2 separate regions of the Homo sapiens genome follow, and region 1 is linked to region 2. The links are contacts of gene promoters, found by promoter capture Hi-C in human tissues and cell types (Jung and others, 2019). All regions are on one chromosome and are shown on one strand. The core of a region is centred on a gene start or on the middle of the fragment in contact, and the rest is flanking DNA. Distances in the headings are between cores, read along the strand shown. Region 1 has its middle 20 kb from the start of OR2T2. Region 2 holds the start of OR2M7 (olfactory receptor family 2 subfamily M member 7).

Region 1 (3,517 bases), core at 963-3,462, 100 kb before region 2:
ATAGAAACTTTAGCAAAATCCCGTATAAATGGACTGCATGGACCACATGAGCTGTGTTGTGACTTCCCTGTGAATGAGATGGGTCACACCATAAGATGATAGTATCAAAACTTTGCAAAGTTTATAATTAGTGGTACAGGGGGCGGGGGTGGGGGGGAAGTAAGACATTTTTTCCTTGCTCATCAAAAGGTTCGTGGTTGGTAACTTCTAACAAAAGACAGATTAGCAACAGAAAAGTATAGCAAATTTACTTAGTAGAAGTTTCATGAGGCATGCGAGCCTTAAAAGTATGATTAGAACATTTAAAAATATGATATAATGGAAATAAACTTAGGAGGAGGACTTAGCGAGGTTTGTTCAGATTCTTAGTGGCCTCCCCATGTGACATTTTTTTCCCTCTGGGCATTGGTCAGGGCCCCTCTGGAATAAAGGGCTTATTACCTTCTCTCAGAACAGGTAGGTCTGAGAATTCTTTTGTGGACAGCTCTCAGGGGAGAAGGGCAGAAAAAATCAGAAAGTGACTTTTCTACCTCTTCGGTTTTCTCAGTTTTCTTCAGCTTATTTAGTATGTCAAGTTTGCATTTGATGAAAAAGCTGAACACTGTAAAATATTTAAAGAGGTTTATTCTGAGCCAATATGAGTGACGATGGCCGGGGAAAAGCCTCAGAAGATCCTGAGAAAGTGTGCCCAGGGTAACTTCTGTCTCCCTAAAACTTAGGGAAAGAACTTGCAGGCAAAGTCATAAATCAATACATGTAAAATATACATTGTTTCAGCCTGAAAAAGCAGGACATGAAGTGGAAGGCTTATGAGTCATAGGTGGATGCAAAGATTTTTCTGATTGGCAATTGGTTGAAAGAGTTAAACTAAAGACTTGAAGTCAGTAGAAAAAAATGTTTGAGTTAAGGTAAGGGAGTTTGTGGAAGCTAAGATTCTTGTTACATATATGAAGCCTCCATGTAGCTGGCTTCAGAAAGAATAGATGGTAAATGTCTCTTTTTGGACCTTAAAAGGTGTGAGCCTCACAGTCTATCTTTCCTGGATCTGGAAAAGGCCTAGCTGCACTAATGGCAGATGCAAAATTTCCCCCACAAAAGATAGCTTTGCAGGGCCATTTCGAAATCTGTCATATAAATATATTTTGTGGTAAAATATTTTTATTTCTTTCAGTGTCTACTATCTGTCATGTGATGCTATATGGGAGTCAGGTTGGAATTTGGTATCTTATTGTTTTGTCAGTCCTGTGATCTCTATTTTAATGTTAATTCCACAATGGAGGGAGTGCAACAAGGTGTGCCCAATCCCCCTTCCCTCATGGCCTGAAATTTACTTTTTCAGATTGCTCTCAGCTCCACTGGCCAAGAAGGGGAATCCATTCAGTTGATTGGGGGGCTTAGGGTTTTACTTTTAGATTTCATCAAGAAGCCATATTTGGAAGGATCTTGTTCTGAGCCCTGACAGAGGAGTTTAAAATTTTTCACATCTGTCTATTAATTCATCATAGACTAAACTAGTTTACGCAGTTAAATAAAATAATGAACTATTTCAAAACAAAATTTGACTCTAGTAGACAGTGTCTGCACAATCATAGCAATCCAGTTGTGAAAAATGTTATAAAAGAACCAAGAAATAACCATGTGACTACAAAACAATGAGGGATTAGGCATCAGAAGACTGAAAATAAGCAACATACTTGAGTGTACTCTATTTTCCATCTCTCTGATTTTATTGTATTTACTCTTGCATTCCATGAGACAGTGTTTCTGCCTCTATCCAAAATTAGACCTCCTACTTGGGCTCTGTGTTGCAACCTCAGAAAATAGTAATAATAATAATAATAAAATAAATCCCAAGCCCTGTAGTTGACTGAATGGGAACTCTCTTGCCCAGGGAGATCTCAAAGAAATCTGAAAAACTAGTTCAGGCCATGACAGGAAGGGAGGTCAGACATGACTCCTTGTACTCCGTTTGTTTGGAGTTTAGGTACAACTGACCAGCATTAACATTAACACAGTGATTATAAGACGGACAAAACAGACTGTGGCAACAATAGCAAATTCCAACCTGACTCTGATATAGAATCACATGACAGATAACAGGCCCTGAAGGAAATAAAAGTATTTTACCGCAGAATGTATTTCTTTGACATGTTTTGGAATGGCCCTGCAAAGCCAACTCTTCTGGGGGAAATCTGAATTCTGTATAGAATCTGCTTCCCTTTCTATGTCTCATAAGGATCCAGAAAACATTTAACTAAGAGTCTGACACCTTTTACCATCTATCCTCTCTGAAGCCTGCTACTGAGAAGCTTTCATAGGTGGATTAAAAAGTTTTTTGACTGGCAATTTGTTGAAAGAGTTAAGCTAAATACTTGTGGTCTCTAGCATTTCCATTGAGTGCTAAATGACTGACCAGCATTAACATTAAAACAGAGATCATGAGACTGACAAAACAGATTATAGGTGGTAATAAGATACTAAATTTCAACCTGACTCTCATATAGCACCACATGACAGATAGCAAACCATGAAGTAAATAAAAATACTTTACCCTGAAATATATTTATTCGACAAATTTTGAAATGGCCCTGCAAAGCTATCTTTTGTGGGGGAAATTTTGCATCTGTAGAGAAACTTTATTAATGCCGCTAAGCCTTTTCCAGATCCAGGAGAGAGTAACTAAGAACCTGACACCTTTTAAGGTGAAAGAGAGACATTTGCCAACTATTGTTTCTAAAGCCTGATACATGGAAGCTTCCTCTACATGACAAGAACGTTGGCTTCCGCAACCCCATTATCTTAACTCAAGCGTTTCTTTCTATAACAAAAACCTTGGCTTCCACAACTATGTAATCTTATGCATTCCTTTCTACTGACGTTTTAAGTCTTTAGACAAAGCTTAACTCAACCAATTGCCAATCAGAAAATTGGTGAATCTATTTCTGACCTGGGAGCCTTGACTTTAACATGTCTAAATTTTCTGGAACCAATATATACCCTTCATGTATTGATTTATCTCTTTGATTATAACTTTGTCTCCCTAAAATGTATCAAACCAAGCTATAACCCAACCACAATGGGCACATATTCTCAGGAACATCTGGGGTTGTGTCCTGGGCCATGGTCACTCATGGCTCAGAATAAACCTCTTCAAATATTTTAGAGTTTCACTTTTCTTCATCAACATTATTTGGTGCCCAATGCAGGACCTCAGAGAAGACTAAGGACTCTCCTCCCCAAAAGAAGTTGTGTGAACTTGGAAATAAGGTACCAATATGGGCTTGTTACCAGTGGAGGGTCTTGACTACAAGTTGTCCAGGTCCTGCTTCCAGACCTTGGTGTTTTCTCTTTTAGGAAGTTAGCATAAATTGGCCTTAAGTTCCCTGTCTCCAGGTCTCCAGATCATATTCTCCTGCTGCAGGCTCATTGAAAGCCTCCTGACTTTGAGCTTCTCCATAGGTGGAACTGGTAAGTAAGTCTTCCTGAGCCACAGAACCCTTACGTGGTTAATAGTACT
Region 2 (3,235 bases), core at 590-3,089:
GTATTTCAACCCATGAGGACAAATTCCAGATTCCTTCTCTTCTGCAGATTTCTTCTAACTTCCTTGCTGCTCCTAGATTTTTCACCTTTCATTGATGTTGTTGTTTTCAGTCTCTTCATTAAAATGTGATGCATGAATAAATGAAAAAAGTACATTTCTGTCAAGTGAGTCTACTCACCAGGCTTGTCTTTCTGTTTATGACATCATTTTTTACTGCCTGGAATAATCTCCCTTCACATATTGGCTTTGCTCATACATTTATTATTATCTCACACAATAAAAACTTAATGCCACAACATACAAGAAACATAACTCTAAATTAGAAAACCCTATGTTTTCCCAAAATCTTCCACACATTTCTATTTTCTCTGTGTATGTTCTATTTATTGCATTTCATTTTGTGGAATTTATATACGTACAACCCTTTCCTGTGATCTGGTGTCTTTCTCACTTGCTCAGAGTCTTTGCCAAAAGCCATTAGATGTGTGAGGTTTCCCTTGACTACTTTATTCAAAGGTGAACATACTAGTGCATTTCTAACACCCTTCTTTGACTTACTTTTCTCCAAAATGTTTATCCTCTTATGACATAAAGTGTTTTATAATCATCATCTGATCACACTCACTATGACCTGTATGGACACGGGCTTTCTTTATTCTGGTCACTGTGGTAGCCCCAGTGATCAACACATAGCCAGGCTTCATAAATGTTGTTGAAAGGATGAATCTCATGCTTTTCTTAATTTCTGTTTTTATATCTACTTATTTTCTATAGGATATATTGGATGTATTAATTTCCTACGAATGCCAGTACAGAGAAATCACAAACAGGTTACCTAAAACAATAGAAATTTATTCTCTCATAGTTTTGGAGTCTAGAAATCTGAAATCAAGTTGTCAGCAGGGTTGGACACTTCTGAGGGCTCTAAGAGGATGAATCTGTCCCATTCCTCTCTCCCAGGTTCCTGTTATAACTAACAGTTTTTGGCATTTCTTGATTTGTAGATGCACCACTCCAATCCCTGCCTCCCCTATCACATGGTATCCTCAGTGTCTCAGTCTTCACATGGCCACCCACTTATCAGAACATGAGTCATATTGAATTAGAGAGACCCACTCTGCTCCAACTTGACCTCACCTTAACTAATTATACCCTTTATGTATTTCTAAACAAGCTCACTTGCTATCTTTTGGGGAAGAAACATAATTCAATGCATCACACTGGGCTATAGAAAAAAGAGCATATGTCTTAGATTTGTATAATTGAAAATCTTTTCAGTGAATCCACTTACTGTATAGAAAACTTACTATAAAGTATAGATAAAATACTTTAAACTGTAAAGTAATAGGTAAACATACACATTTTCTTAACTCTGGTAGGAAAAATGCCTACTATCATGTGAATAAAGGCACAAATTTATTGTCCATTTCTAGTATTGTGTTGGTCACATGGTGACTGAACCTGAATTTCTCTATCAATTTACCTGTAACAGGCTTCTGATGTTTTAGGAACTGTTTGCTTTGGAGACATATTCTTTTTGGAAAAACTCCATTGATCATGTAGTAGATATTGTTATTGTAATTTTTCAATGGAGAAAAAGAATGCTTAGAAGAAAAGTTAGGACAAGCTCCATAATTTTATAAGTGAGACACTGCTGAGAGAACATATTTCTTTATGATTCCATAATTCTTAAACTTTGAGTTTTATAATTCTGGCCATCCTGTATTGATCACCAAACTACAGAATTTACCATAATCACATGCTTTATAAGGCACTGGGTAAATGTTTATCAAATTAATGAACTGTTTTTGCGGTGCTAGGTAACAGGCATATTCATCATGGCATGGGAGAATCAGACCTTCAACTCTGACTTCCTCCTCCTGGGAATCTTCAATCATAGCCCCACCCACACCTTCCTCTTCTTTCTGGTCCTGGCCATCTTTTCAGTGGCCTTCATGGGAAACTCCATCATGGTTCTCCTCATCTACCTGGATACCCAGCTCCACACCCCCATGTACTTCCTCCTCAGCCAACTGTCCCTCATGGACCTCATGCTCATCTGCACCACTGTACCCAAGATGGCCTTCAACTACTTGTCTGGCAGCAAGTCCATTTCTATGGCTGGCTGTGCCACACAAATTTTCTTCTATATATCATTGCTTGGCTCCGAATGCTTTCTGTTGGCTGTTATGTCTTATGACCGCTACACTGCCATTTGCCACCCTCTAAGATACACCAATCTCATGAGACCCAAAATTTGTGGACTTATGACTGCCTTCTCCTGGATCCTGGGCTCTACAGATGGAATCATTGATGCTGTAGCGACATTTTCCTTCTCCTACTGTGGGTCTCGGGAAATAGCCCACTTCTGCTGTGACTTCCCTTCCCTACTAATCCTCTCATGCAATGACACATCAATATTTGAAGAGGTTATTTTCATCTGCTGTATAGTAATGCTTGTTTTCCCTGTTGCAATCATCATCACTTCCTATGCTCGAGTTATTCTGGCTGTCATTCACATGGGATCTGGAGAGGGACGTCGCAAAGCTTTTACTACTTGTTCCTCTCACCTCATGGTGGTGGGAATGTACTATGGAGCAGGTTTGTTCATGTGCATTCAGCCCACATCTCATCATTCTCCTATGCAGGACAAGATGGTGTCTGTATTCTACACCATCGTCACTCCCATGCTGAATCCTCTCATTTATAGCCTCCGCAACAAGGAAGTGACCAGAGCATTAATGAAAATCTTAGGAAAGGGCAAGTCTGGAGATTGAGTTACCTCATAAATTTCATGTTTTGCTGTCTGCTAACGTCTTCTTTTTATTGTCTCTCTTTTTCTATTAAGTCCTAAAAATATCACTAATTGTGTGCATTGCTCAACATATTGATGGGTACCAGTATAATTTATTTCAGATAAACTATTTTAGATTTTTTAATATTCAATTCAGTTATGACTACAATATAAGGCATTTTCAATAAAGACATTCCATTTTTATTTTTAAATTTCATTATCATTTTGGGAAACACATAGTGTTTGGTTACATTAATAAGTTCTTTAATGGTGATTTCTGAGATTTTAGTGCAGCGATCAACCAAGCAGTGTTCGCTGTACCTAATGTGTAGTCTTTTAGCCCTCTCCAGTCCCCAACATTTCTTCCAAGTCCCCAAGTCCAGTGTATCATTTTTATGCCTTGGTGTTTCATAGCTTAGCTGGCACATATGAGTGAGAATA

What was found. Contacts are between HindIII fragments. The study calls those that stand out against the background at their distance.
Region 1: a fragment that was not itself captured here is called in contact with the fragment with the promoter of OR2M7 in region 2 in 3 of the 25 tissues and cell types used here (neural progenitor cells, ovary and small bowel).

What each region holds. Positions count from the first base shown.
Region 1 is chr1:248,423,412-248,426,928 of GRCh38, reverse strand. No RefSeq gene overlaps it. Among named protein-coding and RNA genes, the nearest start is that of OR2T2, 20 kb to the left of the region's middle. The HindIII fragment of the contact is 4,581 bases long and covers 1-3,517 here.
Region 2 is chr1:248,323,172-248,326,406 of GRCh38, reverse strand. OR2M7 (olfactory receptor family 2 subfamily M member 7) reads left to right here and starts at 1,839. Exons shown (of 1, transcript NM_001004691.1): 1 at 1,839-2,777. The coding sequence starts at 1,839. The coding sequence ends at 2,777. The HindIII fragment of the contact is 10,500 bases long and covers 1-3,235 here.